Regions from separate parts of the Homo sapiens genome. Here all the other regions are linked to region 1. The links are contacts of gene promoters, found by promoter capture Hi-C in blood cells and fetal thymus (Javierre and others, 2016). All regions are on one chromosome and are shown on one strand. Each heading gives the region's core, a stretch centred on a gene start or on the middle of the fragment in contact. The rest is flanking DNA. Distances are from core to core; before and after follow the strand shown. Region 1 holds the start of CAMK1G (calcium/calmodulin dependent protein kinase IG). Region 2 holds the start of IRF6 (interferon regulatory factor 6). Region 3 holds the start of C1orf74 (chromosome 1 open reading frame 74). Region 4 overlaps TRAF3IP3 (TRAF3 interacting protein 3). Region 5 overlaps HSD11B1 (hydroxysteroid 11-beta dehydrogenase 1).

Region 1 (2,718 bases), core at 132-2,631:
ACTGAGATCATAGAGGTGAATATTTGCTTGTATTTGCATAAAGAAATACCATAATAAAAGTGGTCACCTATAGAGGGCAATGTCAGGGTCAAGGGACAGATAACGAGTAGAAGGGGGTAACACATCTCAATGTATGCCTTTTAATATGGTCATTTTCTTGCCAATATGAATATGTTATTTATTCAAAAAACAAGATGACACAAAAGAAATGGTACAAGTTAAAAGCTAATTTCAAGGAACAAATGGAAGTGCATAAGAGCTGGATGGGTTTGGAAGACAAATTAAACAGGCAACACAAACAAAGCAAACCCTGGAGTTTCTCAGTTGAGTGTTTGGAAGATGGTAGCTCATTAGCCTAGTTGGGGAAAACAGGAGAGTGGGTTTGAGGGTGGCCATAACACATTCAGCCTTGTTTGTAGGTGACAGTGGGCATTTGGATGTTGAGGTTGAGCATGATAACCCAGGTGGGGTGTTGACTGAGGAGATTCTTATGAAGATGGTAATAGACTCTGTGAGTAGATGGTAACCTTAAGGAGAGAGTAGAGAAGGAGAAAACAAGAGAGCAGATGACAGAGTTTAAAGAAATCTGCACTAAAGGGACTGCCCCAGAGAAGCTAAGATGGAGACTGTGAAGCCTTGGTCAAGGGCCAGGTTGGAGAGATGAGTACAGGAAACAGAGGGAGCACAGAGTTTCCGGAGGAGGGGAATGATTTCCTGGGGTCTCATAGGTTAGGACTGAGACAGGTTTGGGGACCAGAATGCTGAGCTTCTGGAGGAAAAGAGACATATCAAAGATACTGAGTGAGACCGTCCAACTGAGGGGCCCCTTTTGGGACATCCAAGGCCCTTTCTCCCAGTTCTGTAAGAGATAACAAGCAAGGTGGACACTGTCTTCAGTCCCTACATGTCAGCCAGTGTAGATGTTCTGTTTTTCAGGGAGGTGTTTTTAGACAACATACACCAGCACCTGAGGGGTTAAAAAGGAAACTGAGGCAGACAATCCTAGAAAGCTTCTCTGATTTTTTTCTGTCATCACCCATTCAGGATAATGGGAACTTATAATTTGATGTTTTTGTTTTTCATTCTTCCGTTCTGTCTTTCCATCACACACATCAATGCAAACACAATTTCACATACACATGCACACAGACTCACACACACACACACCAGGCAAAAATGCACAAGCATTTTTCTGGATAAGACTCATTACTGCACGCTGGGAGGGAGGGTGAGCAGAGCCGAGGAAAGGAAAGAGAGATGCAAGCCACCCTAGCTACTTTTACTCCCCTTTAAGGCTGCGTGGTTACGGTCCTGGGAAAGAAAACTCCTGCATTCCTCCCCTTTAATTGGGTTTATTGTTAAAGCACTGGAGCAGCTAATCCTCACAGACCTGTAGGAGCTGGAGTGGGAGCTCAAGCAGGATTCTTCCCGAGTCCCTGGGTAAGACAACCCTGCTTCTTTTCTTGGCTTTAGAGGGTCTCCTTGCTTAATGGGAAGCGTGCAGCACCTAGTGAGTGGATTTGAAGAGCCACTTTGTAAGCAACTTGGGCATTTATTTCAGCCCCAGTTCCAGTCTTCCCTGACTCTTTTGGCATCAAGGGTGAGTTATAGCTGTCTTGGAAAATAAGTCTGAATGGGGGGTCCGGGTGGAGCTATCTGTCCGTCACTCCTGGGCTGGCTTTCATGGAAGCATTTTGCCCTTCTGGGCAGGGAAAAGGGAGAAAAATATCTTCATGTGCCCCTCCTGCAATGCCTGCATTCTAGGGACAAGGCTCTGTGCCTAGAGGGACCCCGTCCATCTGCTGGGGTGTTAGGACCTCCAACTCTCTTGCACCCCTCCCTCCTGCTCAACCTTCATCTCTTAACCTCTCTGACCCCATCCATCAAATAAAGTATGCCCTCTCTGCCGACCTCTTTGGGTTATTGGGAGGATTAGCAGAACCAATGGCAAAAAGATTTGTAAACAGCCTGTGGCTCTGCAAGCCTAAGGAAGACGAGTCAGCCTCAGTCCCTCCTGGAGGAGTCTGTGGACAGGCTTCAGGCTCCCTATCCTCAGCCGCGTTAAGATGCAGAACGCAGCCGAGCTATCGCTGTCAGTCACAAGACAGCTTCCTTCACCTTCCCCAGGGGCGCGTCTACCTCCCTTCTGTTTTTAAACTTCCCTAGTTTACCTCTCAAGTGAAGATCTTAAAAGGAGGTCTGGATTCACCACCACCACCACCCCCATCCACACCATGGCCCCTTCTCTCCACGTAACTTTGACGCACAAACATTAACCCTGAGGCTCCCGGAGATGGCTGCCAGGGCTCACGCTGGTCTGGCTGCAGTGCTTGTCTGGCCAGCCTCTTGCTCTGGAGTCAGATAAATTGATCATGAGGAAAGCCTCTGAGAAGGGTCAAGAGAGTCAAGCAGATTCCGCCTTAGGTAAGAAGATGATCTTTTCCAGATCATAAGCTGAAGACAGAACAAGGTCCCTGTCATTCCTGCTGACCCAAGCTTAACCAGAACCAAAGATGAGACCCACCTCTGAAACAGGCCGTAACACAGAGTGCTTAGTAATACCTGATATGGGGACCACACTTTACAGTTTATAATGTGTTTATAATTAATCATCTTTAGGACGATCCCATCAGATGGTGTGGCATGTATTATTTCCCCTTTAGTATAGATGAGACCATTGAAGCTTAGAAGTTAAAGGGTTTGCCTGGGGTTGCAAAG
Region 2 (2,718 bases), core at 133-2,632, 220 kb after region 1:
CACCCTCATTGCCACCTCCATAGCTCCTCCCCAGACTAGTTTCCAGGGGCACTGCCACACAAAAGCCGAGATTTGGCCGTCAGTGGTTTTGCTCAGGTTAAAACACACGCCATTTCTCGCAGACAATTCTTAGCAGTCCCAGCTCTTCCCTTTCTCCTGAAAGAAATGAAATGCCATCGTCTAAGTTCCGTTCCTCAGGCTTCCCTGTTTAGCCCTGCTTAGGGGTAAACTGCAGGCCTCTAGTCAAAATGCCCACACCCTTCCCTTCTGCTGGATGGAAGCTGGGGGATGGCGAATGGGAGTTACAAGGTATTGAGTGCCACTGTCATACATCATACACACGTCTCATCCTAAACCACACTCCTGGGTCAACACCAGCTTTCACCAATCCCACCCAAGCGCCTTCCTCTCTCTATCCATCTCTTTTCCCTGACTTCCACTCTTGACATCCACCAAGAGAACAGGTTGGAACAGGATGACCCCTTTACCACAAAGCAGGCTCCCTGTAAAGAGTGACACCTCAGGCCTCCTTTCCAAGTCAGGCCTGGGAGACTTTCCCCATTCTCCACACCACCCTCCAGCCCCTTCGGGCAAAGAGGGCCCACCCCCAGAGCAACCACACCCCAGCGCCACCCTCCCCAGCACCTAGCTCCGCTCCTTGGAAATCCAAGGTTGTCTCCCAGGCCCAGGGCGAAGGGCCTAACTGTGCCAAACAGACTCAGGGAGGGAAGACAAACCGCCAATGCTCCAAAGCTCCTGGCCACCCTCACTCCAGTTTCCCAAAACGCCCACTAGGATCAAGGACCTGCGGACCTGGGAAGTCCCCTCTCTGGGACACAGGGGCCAGCCGCAAGTTGGTAAGACTGAAGGGGGCGCGGTGCTTTAGCTCTACCGGATAGTGGGGTTGTTGACGGCCGAGAGCAGTGCCCTCCGCTTCGGCGGTGGGGGTAGGGAGAGTAGACACAAGTGTAGATTCGAGAGGGGCCTAGCGCTACAGAACTGAGGCCGCCCCAAAGCTATCTGGAAAAGGGCGACAGGCACCCAGCCCCAGTGGGTACCCACCCCAAACACACAGATGCCCCCAAGCAAGTTCTCTCACCCCCTACAAACTCCGGGGATGGGTCCTACCCCACCCACGGGGGAGCCTCTCCTCCCTCAAGCTGGTCCCCAGAAGTTGGCGTACCCACCTTTGCTCAATCTGTCCACCAGAAGCGGACGTCCCTCCGAACCAAGTCCGCAGCGAAGATCACCCGTCGCTACCACGCTCCTCGACGTCTTAGCCAAGGGGCGCCTGGCTCTACCCAAGTAGGGACTGCAGGTTCCTCTCCCCGTCCCGCACCAGCCCTTACCTGCCCAGCCCAGGTGCGCCGAGCTCACGTCAGCGCCTCGCCCCAGGACGCCGCAGCCTTCGCATCCGCCCGGCCACGCCTCCCAGGTGTGGCCACGCCCCCCGGCGTTCGGGATTGGCGAGTTGCAAGAAATATGACACTCCGCGTTTCTGGGCTGCCCGGCCCAGCGGCGTCCGTCCAGCGTCCCACCCTACTCCTCCGCTTCTAACTCCGGCTAAGAAAGTCCCAGATTCAGGCCTAGCCTTACGGCTCAGGGCTGGTGGTCCTGGGAACTGGAAGCGACTGGGAGTTCAGATCTAAGTCGAGAGGGTGCCTCCCTCCTTCACGGCCCATAATTACCCTGCAGTATGCAGACAGTTAAGCACAAATAAGGGTTTTGAGATTCTGGGTTGGCCCTACTACTCGTGGGCCTGTGTAAGTGGAGTTGCACATGAAGAAGAGAACCAGGACACTTGGTCCTGTCTGGGAGAAGCCATAGGCTTTCAGGACTAGAATTCTACCTTTACTCTGCCTCTTACCCGTGTGACCCTGGGTAAGTTACTTAGCTTCTTGGCTTCTTGGTTTCAGTTTCCTCATCTCTTCAATGAGAATAATAATTCCTTCCTTCTTTTTTGTTGTTGTTTGCTTTTTTCTCTTTCTTTTTTCTTCCTTTTTTTTTTTTTTTTTTTTTGGAGATGGGGTCTTGCTATTAAGTTACACAGTCTGGTCTGCAACACCTGGGCTCAAGGGATCCGCCTCAGCCTCGCAAAGTGCTGGGATTACAGGCACTGGCACCCAGTTCAATTCCTTTTTTTTTTTTTTTTTTTTTTTTTAGGCAGGGTCTGGCTCTGTCATCCAGGCTAGAATGCAGTGGCACAATCATAGCTCAACCTCCTGGGCTCAAGCAATTATCCCACCTCACCCTCCCAAGTAACTGGAAATATAGGCATGGGTCACCATGCCCGGCTAATTTTTTTTTTTTTTTTTTAGAGACAGGGTCTGACTATGTTGCCCAGACTGGAGTTCCTGCTTCCTCTGATCACTATCGTGTAATGAGTAAAAGCATAGCCTCTGGAGCCAACTATTGGGGTTTAGACCCCAACTCCATCAGTTACTACAGACTTGGGAAAGTTTCTTAAGCTTTTTAGGCCCTGGTGTCTTATCTGTAGAAAGAGGTTAGTAATAGTACCTACCTCAGGGGTATTGTGGGAATTCAATAACTACATGTAAACTGCTTGCAACAATATTTAGCACTTATCAAGTGCTTTATATGTACTTGCAATTATTATTGGCATAAAGATTAAAAATACCATATAGACAGTGCGTCAGAGAACAAGAAGGCATTCCTTGTTATTACCTGAAATTCAAGTCCTGCATGTACCCTAACAGG
Region 3 (2,718 bases), core at 120-2,619, 200 kb after region 1:
GCCCCTGCAAATGTGTGATGATCTCAGCCACGAGGGCCTTCAAGTCCTGAAGCTGGTCCAGGGAGCAGACAGAAGGGTGACGCTGGCAGCTGGAAACATCCACAAAGGCTATGGTACCAAGCAGCACCTGCTCCAAGTGCTGACATACATGCTCAGGACTGACAATCAGGCTGTTTTCTCCAATCTCAAGGATGTGAAGTCCAAAAGTCAGGAAGCCAAGCCCCTTCAGCTCCTCCAGATAGCTCTGGAGCTCTGATGCCCCTGCACAGTTGCAATCATAGAGCACAGCTGGCTTCAGTCCCCGGGCCACAGCCAGCACCTCTCCAGCTAAGTGAAGGCAGATGGCTTGGGGTGGACTCCGTCTCTTTCCCATGCCAAGGGTCTGCTGAGCAGCTGCCACCAGCAGCTGAGGGCTCGGTGATGACATGAGATCTAGAAGCAACATCAAGAATGGCCTCCTTAGCTAGCCCGAGTTCCCTTCCCTGGGTGGCATCTTTCAGCCAGACACTTGAGGAGGGGCCTAGAAACAAAGCAGGAGCAGGGAATTATTAACAGCCTTCCTGTTAAATCGCGGTATCTTCCAAAGGTTATTCTGTCCCTCCCTGCTTTGAAATGGCGACCCAGCCCAGACAAGATAGTTTCACCGATGCTGCTTGATTTTTCTGGTTGACTTGGTCTCCCTCAATCATAAATTCGTGTGTTTTTCTAGCCTTATAGCTAGATTTATATTCCCTCTGGCTTTTATTCTAAATTTCACCTGTTGCAAATTACGTTCTCTGGTTCAAACCGTAGGGAATTTGGGGCAGAGGCGGAGGCGGGGCAGTGTTTGGCAAAATTCACAGCATTTCGCCCAAAAGCCCTTCTGGGACAGAGCTCCAAGTTCCAAATGTATCCTTTCCACTGACAACTCCCCTACTCTTCCCGCCAGAGAATAGTTATAAGAATAGTAATTTGATTAATATACACCAGAATGTGGACTAACAACCATCTCACCCTGACACATAAAAATGAATGAATGAAATCCACTAGAACTGCAGAAGGGTAGTATTTTAACTTCTGCTGGCCCCGCCTTCCCTTTCTGTCCGACATCAAGGACCCTCGGAAGATGAGATTTCTCCGATCCACACACCCCACACCAGAGCATGTTATAGTGATTTGCTAAATGAGGCATAAGTCTGTCTCACATACGTTCTTTTTCCACGTCCGCTACAGGTTCGGGGGCTCAGAAACTTTTTGCGGCTTCCTGCCTGCTGCCAGAAAGGCAGCTAGTCCCCCACGCCCAGCCGCAAGTAACACTGGAAAACCCGCCTGCGCTGGGAAGACCCTCGCAGCCCGCTCTGCTCCAGTCCCGCAGGCACCTTCTTGCGCATGCGCACCCACTCGAGTGCCGCCCTCTTTCCCCCCATTCCGTGACGTCATCCAGCCGCTCGCGCGCCTCGCGTTAGAATCACTAGCTAGGCAGCCTTACTGCGCGCCGGAAGTTTGGGCCACCGTGCGGCCCGCCCTTTCCGGCCAGACTGAACGCGGCCCCATCTGTCGGCTTAGGAACTGGGAAGGGCGGAAGTAAACGAGAAAAGGCGGAACCTGGTGAAACTGGTTTCCCGCTGCTGCCCTCATTTTGCTTCGCCGAACGTCCTCCCTGTGTTATGACGTCTGGTGTCCCACTTGACTGGGAATCCAGAAACAGGGCACACAGCAGTTAATAAACACCTTTGATTTGTGTCTGTGGAAATACGTTTTGTCCAGACGAAACATACCTCAAGACAACATATTTTGCAGAATAGCCTCACCTGTGGGTGGTGCTGAAACGTTTTAATTTTTTTTAACTTGACTTCCCTAAATCCTACATTTGAGAGGCCTACAACAGCTCTCTAGGGAGGGTGTGAAGGTGTGAGTATTCACTTTGAACAAATATGTGCCAGTCATGCTGCTAGGCCCTGGAGGTACTGCAGTGAGCAAAACAGACAAAACCCCCACTTTCATGGGGCTTAAGTTCATGTCTACTGAATCCAGTTTGCTGATTTCAAATAAGAAATGAGAAGTGATGACACAGAGGCTTTCCAGTCAGGTCATTACAAAGAAAAAGTGTTATTTCACGTAAGAGTTAACACCTTTTTAACTACCAGCGATTTGACCCATGCCACGAAGGGAAAGGATTTCTTGAGAAAACCCCAATATCTAAGGAAATGGCCCCAATTTATTTATACTTGGAGCAGGACAGAGATTAAGGGAACAGTGGACACCTACACTGGAGTTGTCACTCCTGGATCTATCTTGGTGGTGCCTTCAGTCCATGAAAAGTGAATTGTACAGTAAAGATGGGGTCAGCATGGGAGGAGGACCAGCTTATAGGAGTTACCAGCCTAAGGCTGTCTGGTTCTTAGCTCAGAGGGAATCAGAAGCTGAGAGTAGAAAGTAGTCTTCTAATTTTAGAACGTTTTCCTTCCCCGCATTTATTTAATTTTCCCATGGTGGTTAACAGTAAATCCCTAAAAGACTGATTTAGTTCATTCATTTATTCCAGCAACAAATATTTGAGAACACACTGTGTCCCAGACACTGTTCTAAGGACTGGCAGCGAAGTCCAAGACAAACAGTCCCTACCTTCAGCAAGTTTGCAGTCAAGCAGGATGCGGATGCTGAGCATTACAAGGGAAATGATTATTCTGAGAGAGGAAGTATGGGGTGCTATGGGAACATACAACCAGGGACCTAATT
Region 4 (2,718 bases), core at 116-2,615, 180 kb after region 1:
CCGAGCTACTCAGGAGGCTGAGACACAAGAATTGCTTGAACCCAGGAGGTGGAGGTTGCAGTGAGCTGAGATTGTGCCACTGCACTCCAGCCTGGGTGACGGAGCAAGATTCTGTCTCAAAAAATAAAAATAAAGGAAAGAAACCATTTTAGCTGAATCTTGAAGGATGAGTAGGAGCTAACCAGTAGAGAAGCAAGAGTGATGATGAGGGAAAAAAGCAGAAAGTAGAAGAGTGTTTAAGGTAAAGGAATTGGAATGATTACAGGCCTATGTATGGCAAAGAATTGGGTATAGCAGAGTATGGCTGAAATGAAGGTATGCCAGAGTAGTACCAAAGAAAGGATCTCAGACAGGTCTTTAGAATTATGGGTCTTAAACTTTTTCTGTTGAACAAGGTATCTCAAACTTGAATAATGCATGGACCCATTTTTAAAGGAAACCCATATATGTATATATATAAAATCAGAGATCCTTTAGAATGCATGCTACCCAGCTTGAGAAACACTGCTATAGGTAATAAGCTGAGTAAGAATGGAACTATGCTTTATTGAGGTATAAAGTCCTACACTTAGCAATGTCTGGCTCATCCTTAGAAGGTATGCAATTACTATCTGAGGAAATGACTTGTGAATGATCAGATCTGTGTCTTAAAAAGTTCTGTAATTTCCAACTGGATGCAGTGTCTCACACCTGTAATCCCAACACTTTGGGGGGCCAAGGCAGAAGGATCACTTGAGTGATCAAGACCAGCCTGGGCAACATAGTGAGACCTCATCTCTATTAAAAATAAAAAAATTAGCCATGCATGGTGGTACACACCTATAGTCACAGCTACTTGGGAGGCTGAGGCAGGAGGATCGCTTGAGCCCAGGAGGTCCAGGCTGCACCACTGTACTCCTGCATGGGGTAACAGAGCAAGACCCTGTCTTGAAAAAAAAAAAAGAGGGGGGAGGGTTCAAGGATTATCTAACTTGTAGCAATAAGAACCCTGGCTCCAAGCAGGGGTTGGGGGAGTTGAGACTCTTGTAATATCCCAGGTAAGACACAACCAGAGCTTGAATCAAAGCAAGCTTTGTGGGAATGAGGGGGGATATATTAAGAGACATTTCTGGGTTTGTCTCCAAGGAGGAGTTTCACCCCATGCTCCAGCCCAAGAGCAGAAGTTCCCTTGGTTGTGGTTTCCTCCCTCCCTTCTTCTCACCCCTCCCAATCCTCACCCTTCTCTTCTTTGTCCCTCCTCCCCACCAACCCCCTAGCTTCCAGTTTTAAAGAAAAACAGTCTCAGACTTTTTCAGTTAACAGCTATTGTTTCCCCTAAAATAAGGTAATTCAACTCTCTATCTCTTCCATGAAAGCCTCAACTCCAATAAAAGTATAGCCCCAAACTGTGGTATCTGGGAAAAATAATTGGAAGAAAGTGGCCAGAACTGGTTCAGACCTTTATTTTTGCCATTTGACCTTCATAAATTTGAATTTCCAACTTCACATGCTGAGAACTTACCACAAACTCCCTATTAGAATCCCAAGGATCAGCTCCCTCCGCTGGCTTCACCTCCGGATGTCTCTGGGCCTTTTGGATACCATAGGCTCTGGGGCACTATTGAGACTCCTGAGGAGGGTCCAACCTTCAGGGCAGAAACAGCTCTACTAGCAGAGAAAGCAAGCTTTCAATATTGTGCAATACAAAAACGAGAGCAGGGCAGCCTTGGGTTTGAAGATCTGCGTCCTGGAATTAAGATCTTGAGATGACAGCGCAGCGGGGATTGGCTGAAGCCCTAAGCAACCTCTACTAGAGCAGAGAGATGAGCTGTGGGCTGGTGCTTCTGTGGTGAGGTGGTGGTGTTTCTGGAGAGCAGATCAGAGGCAGGGGAAAACCACGCAGAAGCAGGAGCTGAAGACCTCAGACCGGCACCAGGTGTGTATGGCCTCCGCCTTGCTCCTCTCTTCACTGGGGTTTATATGCCCTCTGAGCCCTCGGCTCCCGGGGTCTAACTGCCTAGAATGTCAGCAGTAGGCCTGTAAAAAGTGCTTCTTCCCACATACTGTAACACTGGGCTTCAGTGTGGGGGACCCTGGGGCTCAGACCAGGAAACTACATGCCCGATTTGCAACAACTTGGCTGCGACTTTTATGACGTTTTGGGGAGTCCAGAAAAGCAGAGCTGTGGAAAGAGGTTTCATTCAAGCTCCAGACTTGGGTGGCCCTTCATCCCCACTGAAGTGGCTATGGTAAATTGTCTTCCGTTGCAACACGAATGGAAAAGTAATTTGGGGTTGGGCCAATACAAAAACAGTTGAAAGAGGCAAAATATTGGATTAAAGCCATACTATGGAATGGGGAGAGAGGAGGTACCCCAAAAGGGTAGGAGACTGGGAAAATTTTAAGAATATTGCCTTAGGCCTGCTATATTCCCAAAATACAGCAAGATAAACCTTAAATTTGGTAGGTTTGATTGCATTCTGCATAGAAAGAGTTTGGGCAAAGGCAAATGTGTGGAACCGAAGATGTGAACCAGAGGAGGTAGGTGTAGAGCCAGTTGATTTCAGGACCTGTGGATTGACAATGAACAGGCCACAGTGGAATGCAGCCGTTTTACCAGTTACTTCAAAGCTCAAACAGTAGAAGTCTTTGTCCACGTCTTCCATCGGTCCCAAAGCCCTCTGCTTATTGTAGATGCCAAATCCCTGACTCTCTGCTCTCCCTCACATGAGACGTTAG
Region 5 (2,718 bases), core at 120-2,619, 140 kb after region 1:
TCTGTTGCCACCTAGACAAACACATTAAATGTCATAGTCAATATCTTTATTGTCATCTAGGGGTGTGTAGTGGGCTGAATGGTGGTCCTCCCCCAAAAGATATATCCACCTAGATCCTGTGAACGTGACCTTAAGTGGACACATAGAAAGTCCTTGAGGATGTAACTAAGATCTCAAGATGAAATCATTCCCGATTATCTGAGAGGCCCTGAATCCAATGACAAGTAACCTTATATGAAGAGTAAAAGACACAGACAGAAGAGAAGAAAGTGATGTGAAGATGGAGGCAGAGACTGGAGTTGCCAGCACAACTCAGCTCCAACTGCCAGCAGACATTAGAAGCTAGAAGAGAAAAAAGAAGGATTCCCTGCTATAGGTTTTGGGGGGAGCATGGCTGTGCTGATAACTTGGTTTTGGACTTCTGGATTCCAGTTCTGTAAGAGAACACATTTCTGTAGTCTTACGCTACCAAGTTTGTGGTAATTTGTTATGGCAGCCCAGGGAAATGAATACAAAGGGACTAGGAGTGACTAGCCCTGTTTATTTATGGGTATCCTCATCTGTCAGCTTAGAAGTGAAAATAATACTGCTATTCATAAATTTTGCCTATTTTGGACTCGACTATCAAAAGAGAGAGAATCCTCACCAATGCAGAAAGAACTGGATTTAACACATGGCTCCTGGAAAACACTCATATAAAGAACAGTGCCTTCTGTAGAGGAAGTACCACCTAGTGTTCAAGAGTGTGGGCCACTAGAGTCAAATTTGAATCCTGGTTTGAATCCTGCTTCTCCCACTCATTAACCTTGAAACTTTGAGCATTTATCCTTTAGATTCTACACTGGCACATAAGAGCTAAATAAATGTTAGTTCCTATTTAGCTCAATTTCAGAGGTTATTGTGTTTGCTCCATATGCTTGCTTATTTTTGCAGAATACTTGTCTCCGCTTACTTATCCCTCTCCATGGCTGAAATGGCTACCCCAGTCCCAACCTTACATGACCTTTTCATTCAAAATCCAACAGCAGCAATCAGAATCTTTTGGTCACTTATTTCAATTTATTGAAAGAGAGACCACGATGTGTGTTCAAGCCAGTGTGCATATTCGTGATAACTGGGCCAACCTTCCATGGCTAGAAAGATAAAGGCTCTTTGAAGGGGATGAGGGCAGGAAGTCCATGGCAAGCATTTCTAGTACACTGTAGCTTTTCACATTTTATATATTCCAACCTATTTATGTCTTCCTTCATAGTATATGCCTCCAATTTCATGCTTTAAAAAGTATCTCTAACTTTGAGATTAGAAATTCACCAATAGCTTATTTTAGTTTTTTACTTTCCACATATACTCTGTGATCTAATTTGAATTTGTTTATTAGAATGGCACTTTTTTCTCCAAGTAACTAGCTATTTGTCCCAACATGATTTTTTGAATAGCTCATACTTTTCTCACCAATTTGAATACTAATACTGCTAACAATAATAGCATTTTCTGAATGCTTTCTATGTGCCAGAGTTTGTGCTAAGTATATTACATGGGTTACTTCAGCTTGGTTATATTATTATCCACATATTACAGCTAAGAATTGGCATACTTGGGATTCACACCTGGGTCATCTGACTCTAGAGCTCATACTTTTAATTATTATGCTATTCTGATAAGTAATGTGGATCTATTTTTGTCTCAAACAATAAGGAAAATTATTGACATAACTGGAAGTCCAGATGTAGGGCAGGCTTCACAGTTGACTTGGCTGAAGCTCAGTGTCCCCGTGATTCTCTTGGCTCTGCTCTCTTCCATGTGTGGCTTCATCCTCAGGCTGACAATGAGATAGCTGCAGCAATTCCAGCCCCCATATCAATGCACAAAAAATGTGTTGGAAGAAAAAGAGGATTGCTACTCTCAGAAACTCTTCCAGAAAAACAATAACTTTTTGAGACACTCCAACAAAATTTTCTTCAAATCTCATTGGTCCAAAATGAGCCACATGGCCATTCCTGTATCAATCATGAGTAAGAAGAATGGGATAAAATAGATTACATAAGCTCATACCTGCAGTTAGGAATGATGTCAGCTTTCTTTTGGCACATGGGCTGCATAGAAGTGAGGATAACTATCAATAAGAAGTAAGTCCAGCTCTCAGATACAGAAAACCTAAAATAATAGTGGATTCAATAAGTTAGCATTTAGGCCAGGCATAGTGGCTCATGCCTGTAATCCCAATACTTTGGGAGGCCGAGGCAGGTGGATCACTTGAGATCAGGAGTTCAAGACCAGCCTGGCCAACATGGTGAAACCCTGTTTCTACTAAAAATACAAAAATTAGCCAGGTTTGGTAGCTCAAACCTGTAATCCCAGCTACTCGGGAGGTTGAGGCAGAAGAATCACTAGAACTTGGGAGGCAAAAGTTGCAGTGAGCCGAGATCATGCCATTGCACTCCAGCCTGGGCAACAGAGCAAGACTCTGCCTCGGAAAACACACACACACACACACACACACACACACAAGTAAGTTAAAATTTAAATCAGGTCTGAAGGTAGGCAGTATAGGGCCAGTATAGTATGGCAGCTCCATGGTCACCCAGGTTCCTTCCTTCTATCTAAACTATCTAAATGTTTTGCCATCCTCAACACGTGGCTTCTACCTCATGGTCCAAGATAGGTCTGGAGCCATAGCCATTACATCCACCTTCAGACACCAAGAAGGACAAAGGATTG

Evidence for each region. Contacts are between HindIII fragments. The CHiCAGO score rates a contact against its expected background, and 5 or more counts as called.
Region 2: a contact is called between the fragment with the promoter of IRF6 here and the fragment with the promoter of CAMK1G in region 1, in 5 of 17 cell types (neutrophils, naive CD4 T cells, non-activated CD4 T cells and 2 more). The highest score is 10.1, in neutrophils.
Region 3: the fragment with the promoter of C1orf74 here is called in contact with the fragment with the promoter of CAMK1G in region 1 in 8 of 17 cell types (neutrophils, non-activated CD4 T cells, total CD4 T cells and 5 more); the score reaches 11.9 in neutrophils.
Region 4: a contact is called between a fragment that was not itself captured here and the fragment with the promoter of CAMK1G in region 1, in 1 of 17 cell types (neutrophils). The highest score is 7.6, in neutrophils.
Region 5: a fragment that was not itself captured here is called in contact with the fragment with the promoter of CAMK1G in region 1 in 2 of 17 cell types (neutrophils and monocytes); the score reaches 13.4 in neutrophils.

The regions. Positions count from the first base shown.
Region 1 is chr1:209,582,333-209,585,050 of GRCh38, forward strand. CAMK1G (calcium/calmodulin dependent protein kinase IG) reads left to right here and starts at 1,382. Exons shown (of 13, transcript NM_020439.3): 1 at 1,382-1,440. The region is part of intron 1 of LOC107985256 (a long non-coding RNA gene); the gene reads right to left. The HindIII fragment of the contact is 1,486 bases long and covers 1,009-2,494 here.
Region 2 is chr1:209,804,760-209,807,477 of GRCh38, forward strand. It overlaps IRF6 (interferon regulatory factor 6), which reads right to left and starts at 1,383. Exons shown (of 9, transcript NM_006147.4): 1 at 1,188-1,383. RefSeq lists a silencer at 1,305-1,648. The HindIII fragment of the contact is 4,987 bases long and covers 1-2,466 here.
Region 3 is chr1:209,783,190-209,785,907 of GRCh38, forward strand. C1orf74 (chromosome 1 open reading frame 74) reads right to left here and starts at 1,370. Exons shown (of 2, transcript NM_152485.4): 1 at 1,189-1,370; 2 at 1-520. The coding sequence starts at 445. IRF6 (interferon regulatory factor 6) reads right to left here. Exons shown (of 9, transcript NM_006147.4): 9 at 2,428-2,718. RefSeq lists enhancers at 1,075-1,692, 1,249-1,508, 1,693-2,308. The HindIII fragment of the contact is 4,418 bases long and covers 1-2,718 here.
Region 4 is chr1:209,766,746-209,769,463 of GRCh38, forward strand. All of the region lies in intron 8 of TRAF3IP3 (TRAF3 interacting protein 3), which reads left to right. Among named protein-coding and RNA genes, the nearest start is that of TRAF3IP3, 12 kb to the left of the region's middle. RefSeq lists enhancers at 2,651-2,700, 2,711-2,718. The HindIII fragment of the contact is 594 bases long and covers 1,069-1,662 here.
Region 5 is chr1:209,726,888-209,729,605 of GRCh38, forward strand. All of the region lies in intron 4 of HSD11B1 (hydroxysteroid 11-beta dehydrogenase 1), which reads left to right. The region is part of intron 1 of HSD11B1-AS1 (HSD11B1 antisense RNA 1); the gene reads right to left. Among named protein-coding and RNA genes, the nearest start is that of HSD11B1-AS1, 14 kb to the right of the region's middle. The HindIII fragment of the contact is 5,210 bases long and covers 1-2,718 here.